3 separate regions of the Homo sapiens genome follow, and all the other regions are linked to region 1. Evidence: promoter capture Hi-C in 16 types of primary human blood cells and fetal thymus (Javierre and others, 2016). All regions are on one chromosome and are shown on one strand. Each heading gives the region's core, a stretch centred on a gene start or on the middle of the fragment in contact. The rest is flanking DNA. Distances are from core to core; before and after follow the strand shown. Region 1 holds the start of DYNC1LI2 (dynein cytoplasmic 1 light intermediate chain 2). Region 2 overlaps CMTM4 (CKLF like MARVEL transmembrane domain containing 4). Region 3 overlaps CMTM4 (CKLF like MARVEL transmembrane domain containing 4).

Region 1 (3,988 bases), core at 1,006-3,505:
CCGGGCAAGGATGGGGAGGCATGACACTCACATGACACGGAGAAACTAAGAATTTCATGCAAAGTCTGCTGTTGAAGTCTCACCTGCTTTCATAAACAAAGGACTTTGCTGGAAGAGTGGTTGGGAGGGTGGGGAGGAGAGGGTGGTAAAGGCAGCAAATTCCAAGATCTAAAATGACATTCTACTGCAGTTATCCTTACTTCAAAAGGGAAATAATGAGGCAGGTCCACAGGCCCTATCTATAATTTATAAGACATGCATTCGGAGAAGTGAAAGTAAAAGGTAGGGTTAGTTTCTCACAAGAAAAAGTTTCACCACAAGAAAAACAAGAAATCTTCAAAATATGATACAATTAACCTAAAAGTCCAGGTACTGTGAACTAAAAAAAGTCTGATCCTGCTTCACAATGGTGAAGAATGGAAGTTATTCACTTTTGATTTTAGTACATCTCCTTCACAAACATTCTGAAGGCTAAGAAACTGACGAAAATAATTATAGACCTAGCAAAACTCTTCAGTACAATCTCAGTTAATTATTAAGCACTTCTTCATCTCCCTCCACCCAAACAACACCCCCCTTCCCCGGATCCTTAAACATCAAGGAGAACCATCGCCAAACATTACTAGGCACTTCTGCCATTTAATAATATGGAATTACAGAACATGAGAATTGAAAGGCAGTCAGTCCACAGATCAAAGACCTCCTCTCCATCTCCAATGCCTCTACCTTATTCAGGCCCTCTGCATCCAGACCAAGGTGAGGACCTGTCAGCCTGACTTCAGTACCTGCTCATTTTGAGCTACTGTCCCTCTGCAGGCAGCGTTCTTTCTAAAACTCAGATCTGGTGATCTTGATCCCCCACTTCTTGAAGATCTCTAAGGGTCCGGTATTACCTACCACAGTCAATTCCTGAGAAAGGTCACACATTCTAACAGTAGGAAAACTACCAAGGCAGTGATTCCCATGGGAATTGGGGGATGGAGGTGAGATAAAAGCCATTTGAAAAATCAGAGAACTTCAGGAAACAGCACTAACTCTTCAGCCTTCCCACAATCTGCCCCCAACTTACCTTAGCAGCCACCAACCACAAGGCGCTTCTAGCAGTTTCCAAACCCCACACCCTCTTGTCATCTGTGTCCCTGCATACTGACACTTTTCTGCAAAATACTCAACCCCCGAATCATCCTCCTTCACCAGCTCTAAGCAGTGTAATGCTTCCACAATAATCGGCATGGTGCAATGCAATCACCAATACATCTGTCTTCCACCAGACTGAGATTCTTCTATAGTGTTTAAGAGTCGCCTATGCTGAGCCTGTGCCCAGCCCACAGGTCCCAAGCAACAAATGGACTTGCTGTGTGAATGTACCCAAACTCCCTCACTTGAGGAGAGTGAGGCCAGAGGGAGTAAGGGACCTGACTCAGGTAACCTAGCAGTGAGGGCTAGCATAATGGAGGAAACGTCCCCAGTGCTGACTCTCTGTCCTCTGCAAAGTCCCTAAAACCTCGGACTATGCACTACTGATGAGGCTCAAAGAAGGCTCCCGTGGTCATTTCCCCACAGCTCCGAGCCCAGGTCACCTCGTTCTCCCACCTTCTCCACCTAATCTCATCTACTAGCTTCCCCTCTCCACGACCTCAATTTGGTAACCGTCGAGGCAATGAAGGCATAGAGGGCCAAGTGACTGAAACAATATGCCGACAACCCCAAAGCACCACTACGCTCTCCAAAGAGGGCAGCATCCCACCCTCAGGCGCTGGAGGCTTGACCACTCTCCAGCTGACCGGCCAGGGCCGACGGTCCCTTTCCCGCCAGGCTGCGGGCAGGCGGCTGGAACGGGGAAGGCGGGGACCTGAGGGAGGGGCGCCCGCCTCGCCCACCCCAGCGACCTGGGGCAACGCCCCGCCGCCGGCGCTCACCGAAGACCAGGATGTTCTTGCCGGACGGCAGCTTGGACCTGGCGCGGGTGGACACTTCGCTCAGAATGGAGGACCTGTGGCGACAATGGCAAGAGTGGTCAGCCCCGGGCCGGGCTGGGATGGCCCGGCTCGCGTCGGCCCCTCAGTGTGTCCGACGGTCCGGCCCAGAGGCCGCGCCCCCCACGGCCCGGCCCGACCGCCCGCGGCCTCACCATAGGCTCTGGCCTTCCTCCTCCTCACTGGTCAGGTCGCCGGCGGCCGCCACCGCGGGCCCGTTGGGACCTAGCAGCAGCTTCTTCTCCACCCCCACCGGCGCCATCTTGCCAACTGCAGCCACAAAGAGGGCCCTCCCCCGGGCCCGCCGAGGACCCGCGAGGACCCGGGCCGGGCCGCCCCCCGCTCGCCGTCCCTCGCGCCGCGCCGCCCGCCGACCTTGCCGCGGCGACTGCGCCGCCCAACGTGTCCTCTAGGTCTGCGATGGCCACGGGCTCCCACGGGTTGCGAGGCCGCCGAGGTGGCGGGCGGCGGTCAGGCAGCCGCCGGGGCAGCCATGCGCGGGGAGGCGGTGGCAGGGGCGGGCACCGTCCGGACCGAGGGCGCGCTGGCGGCCTCTGCCGGCTGAGGGGCGCAGCGCAGCACCCCGCCACGCTCGCCGATTCCCCTGCGCCGTCGCGGGTCGGGCAGCCGGATGACCGACCCGAAAGCCTAGGCTTTGGGAATGAGACTGATGGACACAAAAGCGCCATTTATCTAGAGCTCACCATGTGCCAGAGTCACACATTATCTCACTGAATCTTATCTAACCCTTTCACAGATGAGGAACCTGAAGCTCAAAAAATTTAAGAAACCCACCCAAGGACCCAAGGCTAGAAGATAACATTCGGTACTTCTAATTTATTCCCCAACCTTGGACCATTATATCATGAACTTGGCCTAACCCTACTCAAGCCCTGCATTGAAAGACTAGCCTTAAGGAAGACCCCAGAATCCTCATAAATATCCTGCATTTCCCCCTCCTCCTCCGAAGACTAAAGACTGTGAAGTAGTGCTCTTGACCGCAGTGCATAATACACTTGGCTTTGCTTTATTAACATGCTTTTTAAAATGATGTTTTCAGGGAGCCAGCATTTCACACCAGAAGAGGAGCCCTTAATTTCCTTGGGGGCCAGCTGGCAGGTGCAGAGCGGGGAGAAAAATAAAAGGAAAGGGGATGGAAAAGGGAAAGAGCGGAGAGTAACCGAAGGAAAAACATACATTCCATTATCAAGCTTAATTTTAGGTGTGGCCTCTACTTGAGGGCTCTTGCCATTCTCTATGGAAACAGGCTAACAAGACATTTCTAAATATCACAAGGAAGTGGAATGTGGCAGAAAAGCACCACCTAAGTAGGTTTCAGATGAGTAGGATTGTGATCCTGATGCCAAAAAATCTGGCGGCATGAATTACGGGATAAAACAAATGGGCATATCATCTGCCAAACTGGATGTAAGGTTTAAACAAGACGAGAGTGAAAACCCACTGAGTTCCTCCCTTGGAAATCTGGGAAAATCAGGCAAAGTGCCAGAAGTCCTAAAAGGGCAAGCAGTGCTGAATTTTCACAGGACAGAAGATGGAGATGAAAATTACAGGCCAGTGAGCTTAATCAGCACTAAGTGAAATTTTGTGATTAAACACTAAAGGAAAAGAGAATACCAGATTTACACAGTATCTTTCTTTTTTGCAGGAGTACCAGGTAGGCGGATGCTGCAGATACAGCAAATGCAGATTTCAACAGGGCATTTGACAATTCACATCTTAGATGCGAAAGTGAAATCAATGCTGGATGATAGCACTGAGGCTTATTAAAGACTAGCCCAGAGGTGGCTGATGAAGAGGAGGGACCAGCAGATGAGGCTGCTAGGGGCCTGCCCAAACCTCCTGCCCTGGCCAGCCAATTCAGGGTGCCATCAGTGACTTGGATAAGAATACAGCAGCAGTCATGGAAGTTGTGGATGACCTGAAGCAGGAAGGGTTGCCTTATCTACTGCATGACAAACTGAGCAGAGACTAAATCTAACAAGTTGAAATTT
Region 2 (3,988 bases), core at 1,062-3,561, 130 kb before region 1:
TCTGTGCTTTACGTGAGAATGTACCCCCTTCCTCCCAGAGTTGTTGAAGGAATTAAATGGAACCATACAGGTGAAGAGCCCAGCATGGTGCCTGGCCCACAGCTACAGTGGCCTACATATTTACTGTCACTTCTGTTATTACTACTTTGGCATGAGGCACCCAGTAGCCTGGGTCATACCAGAGTACCTCTAAAACCTCTATAGGAAAAAAATTCAGGAAAAAGCCCAAACTGCCTGAGTGCCAGGCTGATTACACTATCCACACCTGATGGATCCTCTGGTCTGGCCTAGCTCCAAGGTCGATTTCCTCTTTTTGAAGATGTAAAGATGGCTGGTGCGGTGGCTCATGCCTGTAATCCCAGCACTTTGGGAGGCTGAGGCGGATGGATCACTTGAGGTCAGGTGTTCGAGAACAGCCTGGTCAACATGGTGAAACCCCATCTCTACTAAAAATACAAAAATTAGCTGGGCATGGTGGCGCATGCCTGTAATCCCAGCTACTTGGGCAGCTGAAGTACGAGAATCACTTGAACCCGGGAGGCAGAGGTTGCAGTGAGCTAAGATCGTGCCACTGCACTCTAGCCTGGGTGACAGAGCGAGACTCTTGTCTCAATAAAATAATAAAATAAGATGTAAAGAGACAATGCTGGCATCATAACAGTGCTGAGTCTTGCAGCAGACACCCAACCTGCTCCTGGCTCATGGAAAGCTCTGCTCAGACGCATCTGCCAGCAGGATGGGTTTCAGCTATGACCTGCGTAAGCCAGGGCAAATTTTTCACAAATTCAAACCAGGAAGCGTTTAGTTACACTCAGCTCTGGGTAAGATGCTGTAGGGGTAAAAAAAGAATATAAAATATACTTCCCAAAGCAAAGACTATTCAGAAACGAGGGGAAAATACAATACACTGTGAGGTCAAACATCAAATAAAACAGTATCAACATTAACAGTGACTACATAAAAACAGAGATGCAGCAAAGGGCTAGAAAACAAACAGGCCGGGCACGGTGGCTCATGCCTGTAATCCCAGCACTTTGGGAGGCCGAGGCGGGCGGATCACCTGAGGTTGGGAGTTCGAGACCAGCCTGACCAACATGGAAAAACCCCGTCTCTACTAAAAATACAAAATTAGCCGGGTGTGGTGGCACATGCCTGTAATCCCAGCTACTCGGGAGGCTGAGGCAGGAGAATCGCTGGAACCCGGGAGGCGGAGGTTGCAGTGAGCCAAGACTGCGCCGCTGCACTCCAGCCTAGGCAACAAGAGCGAAACTCTGTCTCAAAAAAAAAAAAAAAGAAAAAGAAAAAAGAAAACAGTCAAAAATTTTAAAGTTGTAGGAGTATCAGTAGTTTTAAATTTGCTTTAGTAATGATCATTAACAGTAGTGAGTGAAGAATGAGATGATGAATGGGAACAGCAAATACAGGGAAAAAATATGTCAAAAAGCCTATTTTAAAAAGATAAAAAATAATCTTTCAACATGATCTGAGGCTAAGAAACCAGATTAAACCAGGGGAAAAAAACGCCAGCAACTGCTAACAAGAGCATAACATATCTGCCTCCTCAAATCCCACTGAATCATATTTAAATACTGAAGCACTTGCTTAAAAGATGAATCTAAATATAATTGAGCTTCTAGGACTGTGCTGTCCAATAGGGCAAACACTAGCCATATGTGACTGAAGTTAAACTAATTCATATAAGATAAAAAATTTCACTCTTCAATCACACTAGCCACAATTCGAGTGCTCAGTGGCCACATGTGACAAGTGGCTGCCTCAAGGGCACAGCAGATCAGAAAACATTTCAATTGTCAGAGCAGCTGCTATAGCACCACACTGCCCTGAGATCAATGACTAGGTCACAGAGAAAATGGGGAAAGAAGGACATATGAAACACTACCATGAGGGTGCATGCAGCCAACTCAACTGCAAGACCCTCTACAGGATAAATGACCCAGTTTTTCTAACAAGTCAACAGAATAAAAAGAAAAAGGGAGGCCAGGCACAGCAGCTCATGCCTATAATCCCAGCACTTTGGGAGGCCGAGGTGGGCGGATCACCTGAGGTCAGGAGATGGAGACCAGCCTGGCAAATATGGTGAAACCCCGTCTCTACTAAAAATACAAAAATTAGCTGGACCCCGTCTCTACTAAAAAATTAGCTGTGGCCAGGCGTGGTGGCTCACATCTGTAATCCCAGCACTTTGGGAGGCCAAGGTGAGTGGACAGCCTGAGCTCAGGAGCTCAAGACCACCCCTAGGCAATATGGCGAAACCCCATCTCTACTAAAACACAAAAAATTAGCCAGGCACGGTGGCATGCACCATGTAGTCCCAGTTACTCGGCAGGCTGAGGCAAGAGAATCGCTAGAGGCCAGGGGGCGGAGATTGCAATGAGCCAAGATCTCGCCACTGCACTCCAGCCTGGGCGACAGAGTGAGACTCCCTCTCAAAAAAAAAACAAAGTTAGCTGGGCATAGTAGCACATGCCTGTAGTCCCAGCTACTCGGGAGGCTGAGGCAGAAGAACTGCGTGAATCCAGGAGGCAGAGGTTGCTGTGAGCCCAGATTGCGCCACTGCACTCCAGCCTGAGAGACAGAATGAGACTCCGTCTCAAAGAAAAAAAAAAAGAAAAAAAAGGAAAAAAAAGAAAATCATATTGGGGGCCAGGCATGGTGGCTCCTGCCTGTAATCCCAACACTTGGGAGGCTGAGGTGGGTGGATTGTTTGAGCTCAGGAGTTCGAGACCAGCCTGGGCAACACAGCAAAACCCTGTCTCTACAAAAAAATTCAAAAAAATTAGCCAGGCATGGTAGTGCGTTCCTGTAGTCCCAGCTACTTGGAAGGCTGAGGTAGGAAGATTGTTTGAGCCCAGGAGGTCGAGGCTGCAGTGAGCGGAGACTGCGCCTCTGCACTGCAGCCTGGGGGACAGCGTGAGACTCTGTCTCAAAAAAATAAATAAATAAATGATATAAGGCAAAAAGGTCTAAGTATAAGGAAGCAAACAAAGTGCTCAATAGGGGAGTTGTTCAATAAAATGGTATTTCCATAATGGAACACTATGCAGTCATTAAAAATAATCACGTAGTTATATATTTAACATGTAAGGTACAATAATTTAAATGAAAAAGCATGATTTTAATGGTTCCATTTTTCTGCACTCACATATCACAACACACATGCATACGCAAAAGACTGTCTAGAGAGAACAGTTTAGAAGGATTTATACTCAAGTATTTTAAGTGGTTACCCTTCATTGGGTCATATCACGTATTTTTAAACAGCTTTATTGAGATATAATTCACATACCATAACATATACCCAATTAAAGTATATAATTCAATCACAATGTAATTTTAGAACATTTTTAGCACTCCAAAAAAAGCCTCATACGCATTAGCAGTTATTTCTCATTCCTCCCCCAACCCTAAGCAACCACCAATCTGCTTTCTGTCTCTATGGATTTGCCTATTCTGGACATTTTTTTTTTCCTGTGTGTGAAATCTGCCACAAATATTCTGGACATTTCATACAAATAGAATGACATAACATGTGCTTTGTGCCTGGCCTCTTCTGAAGGCGTGGCCTGCCCCTCCACACCAGTGGGATATCTCGTCAGGTGGGACGAGAGACTGAGAAAAGAAGTAAGACACAGAGACAAAGCATAGAGAAACAACAGTGGGCCCAGGAGACCGGCACTCAGCATACCAAGGACCTGCCCCGGCACCGGTCTCTGAGTTCTCTGTTTTTATTGATTATTATTTTCATTATCTCAGCAAGAGGAATGCGGTAGGAGAACAGGATGATAATAGGGAGAAGGTCAGCAAAAAAAACATGTGAGCAAAGGAATCTATGTCATAATTAAGTTCAAGGGGAGGTACTATGTCTGGATGTGCACGTAGGCCAGATTTATGTTTCTCTCTGCCCAAACATCTCAGTGGAGTAAAGAATAACAAGGCAACATTGCTGCCAACATGTCTCGCCTCCCGC
Region 3 (3,988 bases), core at 645-3,144, 100 kb before region 1:
AAACACAAGGCAGAGAGATGGGGGATTCTGTGGACTGGCGGGGAAAGGGTCCAAGGGATACTTAGAGAAAGAACAGAGTACAGCACACAAGGCATAAAGTGACCCCATTTTTGGTGAAGAACAAAAAATAAGCATATTTGTGTTTACAAACACATTTATGTGCATTGAAGGATTTAAGCTAAACAGTAAAAAATCAATACCTCTCTATGGATTAGGATTAGGTGGGGAACAGGGGAATCACAGAGATTTTACCTTTTTTAATTAACACTCCTGTCGTGTTTGAATATGTAAGAAATATACATATTCATACATATATGTATTTATAATACATGCATATAATATATACACATATATGTACACATTGTATATAACTGCATGTATGTAAATATATCACATGTATATATTATAGATTCAGGAAGAATCTATAGTAAAATATTGATAGTAAACCCATCTATATGGTAGAAATGTGGATAGGTTTATTTTCATTGAGCCCGCTTTCATGTTCCAAAATTTCTACAAAGAGTATATGTGTTTTTAATTAGAAAAAAAAATTAAATGCCCTATGTATGGACACTTTTTTGAAACATCCAGGTTATGAGTTAAATTTTAGTGACCTCTAAGAACCAATCCTTACTTGTTTTGAAACCATTCATGAATTTTTTTTTTTTTTTTTGGGACACAGTCTCGCTGTGTTACCCAGGCTGAAGTGCAATGGTGCGATCTTGGCTCACTGCAACCTCCACCTCCTGGGTTCAAACGATTCTCCTGCCTCAGCCTCCTGAGTAGCTGGGATTATAGGTGTGCACCACCACACCCGGCTAATTTTTGTATTTTTAGTAGAGACAGGGTTTCACCACGTTGGCCAGGATGGTCTCGAACTCCTGACCTCAGGTGATCTACCCACTTCGGCCTCCCAAAGTGCTGGGATTACAGGCGTGACCCACCACGCCCAGCCTGGTCAGGACTTTTTAAAAGCCCTTTTGACCAGGTGCAGTGGCTCACACCTGCAATCCCAACACTTTGGGAGGCCGAGGTGGGTGGATCATGAAGTCAGGAGATCAAGACTATCCTGGCTAATACGGTGAAACCCCGCCTCTACTAAAAAAAAAAAAAATACAAAAAAGTAGTCGGGTGTGGTGGCAGGTGCCTGTAGTCCCAGCTACTCAGGAGGCTGAGGCAGGAGAATCGCTTGAAATGGGGAGGCGGAGGTTACAGTGAGCCGAGATCATGCCACTGCACTCCAGCTTGGGCAACAGTGCGAGACTCTGTCTCAAAAAAAAAAAAAAAAAAAAGTCCTTTTAAAAAGTACACAGGCTTCACAATTATAGCCTGTTTTCACAAAAGAAAGTTCTCTTTTTAGTCCAGATTTAATCTTGTCAGTCATCTGAGAAGTCAAAAACTTACCCTGTTTTTCCATCTAAAAAAGCAATCTATGACATCACCTAGAAATACGTGAGCATTGCTTCTGATACACCATTGGGGGTAAGGAAGGTGTGCGCAGGGCCAACTGTGAGGAGACTGGGGAAGAAGTTGGACAAAAGAGCAAATGAGGAATGTGAACATCTATCTCTCTGAGTGCTACTCAGAGAAGTTCAGGATCCAGCCTTAATCACCCACACAAAACACCAGAGAACCTAACTTCAAACTATTGTTCTTTCTTTTTTTAAAAAAAAATGAGTCTCACTATGTTGCCCAGGCTGGACTCAAACTCCTGGCTCAAGAGATCCTCCCACCTCAGCCTCCCGAGTAGCTGGGATTACAGGTGCACGCCACCACACCCAGCTTTGCTGTTCTTTGATTACTCATTAGACATCTGTGTGAGAGAAGTTGTGAAATCATTTGATAAAAGTGGTATTTTTATTTACAGTGATGGTGACCCACTGCTTTAAATGCACTTTGTCTGTATTCACTTGAATCCAAAGCAACTCTCATCCTATAAAAGACAGCTGTCATTAGGGTTGTAGGAGTCATTAATGCTGGCTGCCAAATATTTGTGGTTCTCCACCATCCAGCACCTTCCCCGCATCCTTTGAATTTGTGTGGGGCCACAAGACTACTTCTGGCTAATGAGCTGCCAAGTGCATCACTTTCAGGTGGAAGACTTTGTTGCCAGTATGAGATGTTCCAGAGACCTCCCTTCACCACAGTGCCCAGCAAGCTCTGAAATGTAGCTGCTCTACCAGCAGTGAGGACACATGGGCTAGAAAGAGTAAGCAGAAAAATGAACCTTGGTTGTTACTACCTAGTATTCTTGCTTTTCCCAACTGCTACGAGGATGGTGCCTTCATCTGTTTGGGAATGAAAATATTTTTCCTGGATCTGAGTTTTTCCTCATCATTAATATCTTAAGAAATCTTAGCACTTTGGGAGGCCGAGGCTGGTGGATCAACTGAGGTCAGGAGTTCAAGACCAGCCTGACCAACATGGTGAAACCCCATCTCTGCTAAAAATATAAAATTAGCTGGGCCTGGTGGCGCATGCCTATAATCTCAGCTACTCAGGAGGCTGAGACAGAAGAATCGCTTGAACCCGGGAGGCGGAGGCTGCAGTGAGCCGAGATCACGCCATTGCACTCCGGCCTGGGCAACAAGAATGAAACTCCGTCTCAAAAAAAAAAAGAAATAAATCTCAGCCCCCAGGCCGAGCACGGTGGCTCACGCCTGTCATCTCAACACTTTGGGAGGCTGAAGCAGGCTGATCACCTGAGGTCAGGAGTTCAAGACCAGCCTGGCCAACATGGTGAAACCCCATCTCTACTAAAAATACAAAAACTAGCTGGGTGTGGTAGCGCAGGCCTATAATCCCAGCTACTCAGGAAGCTGAGGCAGGAGAATCGCTTGAACCCAAAAGGCAGAGGTTACAGTGAGCCAAGATCATTCCACTGCACTCCAGCCTGGCTGACAGAGCGAGACTCTGTCAAAAAAAGAAAAGAAAAGGAAAAGGAAAAGAAAAGAAAAGAGAAATCTTAGCCCCCAGACACTATGTTCTAAACAGTGACTGAGGTTGCTGGGCACAGTGGTGCACACCTGTAGTCCTAGCTACCCAGGAGGCCTAGGCAGGAGGATCGCCTGTGCCCAGGAGTTTGAGGCTGCCTACCGTGAGCTATGATCATGGCTGTGTAATAGCCACTGCACTACAGTCCCAGCAATAGCGTGAGACCCTGTCTCTTAAAAAAAGAAAAAGTTCCTGAGGTGGGTGTGGACATTTGCCTTTATGTTTTAAAAGTCCATTTTTTTTTTAAAGTAGTATTTAGGCAAGTACCATCCCTTTATTCAGCTAAAATTAACTGAGGATCTACTACATGCCAGGCACGATCCTAACTCTAGGGATGCATTGGTGAACAAGCTCCTTAGGGAGCAAATATGCTGCTTTTTTCTTTTGGTCTTGATTCCTTCTCTCTATCTATCCATCTATCTATCTATCTATCTATCTATCTATCTATCCCTGATTTTTTTTCTTCCTAATATATGCATTATTTCCATGACAGGTCATTTCAAATCTATTGAAGAGTATATCCCAATTTAATCATGACTTATATCACCTGGTGTCCTGCAGACTCCACAGTGGGAGCAGGTATGGTCCGTCCTCAGCAGCCTCCCCACTCCCTAAGCCTGGGCTCAACCTCAGCCTTGCACTGGGTTCACACCCTCCTATGAACATGAGTCAGGTCCAGAGCCCGACTCCCTCCTCATGGGGGGCAGGGGCAGGGCTCTCACTGGCACTCGTCTGCTGCCCTCCTCTCCTGAGTATGGCTTCTTTCAGGGCCCCTAATCCCTGTACATGTCAGGATCACAGACATGTATAAGAAAGGCCACGCCCCAGGCAAACAGGGTGAGGCCAGACAACTTCTCCCTCAACCCTGATCGTTTTGTGGCACTTGGAGACTCTCTGTGCTTAAGGTCTCAGTTCCAGTCCAGCCAACACACGCTATTATACACAAAAAGAACTAACCAGGTGCGTGGCTCGGTGCCCAGGGAGGTATCGAGAC

Evidence for each region. The method cuts DNA at HindIII sites, captures the fragments that hold promoters and counts their contacts. A CHiCAGO score of 5 or more calls a contact.
Region 2: a fragment that was not itself captured here is called in contact with the fragment with the promoter of DYNC1LI2 in region 1 in 1 of 17 cell types (M1 macrophages); the score reaches 5.5 in M1 macrophages.
Region 3: a contact is called between a fragment that was not itself captured here and the fragment with the promoter of DYNC1LI2 in region 1, in 6 of 17 cell types (naive CD8 T cells, naive CD4 T cells, M1 macrophages and 3 more). The highest score is 7.7, in naive CD8 T cells.

What each region holds. Positions count from the first base shown.
Region 1 is chr16:66,749,354-66,753,341 of GRCh38, forward strand. DYNC1LI2 (dynein cytoplasmic 1 light intermediate chain 2) reads right to left here and starts at 2,256. Exons shown (of 13, transcript NM_006141.3): 1 at 2,132-2,256; 2 at 1,920-1,993. The coding sequence starts at 2,238. It overlaps DYNC1LI2-DT (DYNC1LI2 divergent transcript), which reads left to right and starts at 2,399. Exons shown (of 2, transcript NR_133569.1): 1 at 2,399-3,547; 2 at 3,643-3,988. RefSeq lists a silencer at 1,884-2,683 and an enhancer at 1,897-2,612. The HindIII fragment of the contact is 3,643 bases long and covers 1-3,185 here.
Region 2 is chr16:66,624,157-66,628,144 of GRCh38, forward strand. All of the region lies in intron 2 of CMTM4 (CKLF like MARVEL transmembrane domain containing 4), which reads right to left. Among named protein-coding and RNA genes, the nearest start is that of CMTM3, 21 kb to the left of the region's middle. The HindIII fragment of the contact is 4,903 bases long and covers 1-3,988 here.
Region 3 is chr16:66,646,052-66,650,039 of GRCh38, forward strand. All of the region lies in intron 1 of CMTM4 (CKLF like MARVEL transmembrane domain containing 4), which reads right to left. Among named protein-coding and RNA genes, the nearest start is that of CMTM3, 43 kb to the left of the region's middle. The HindIII fragment of the contact is 8,901 bases long and covers 1-3,988 here.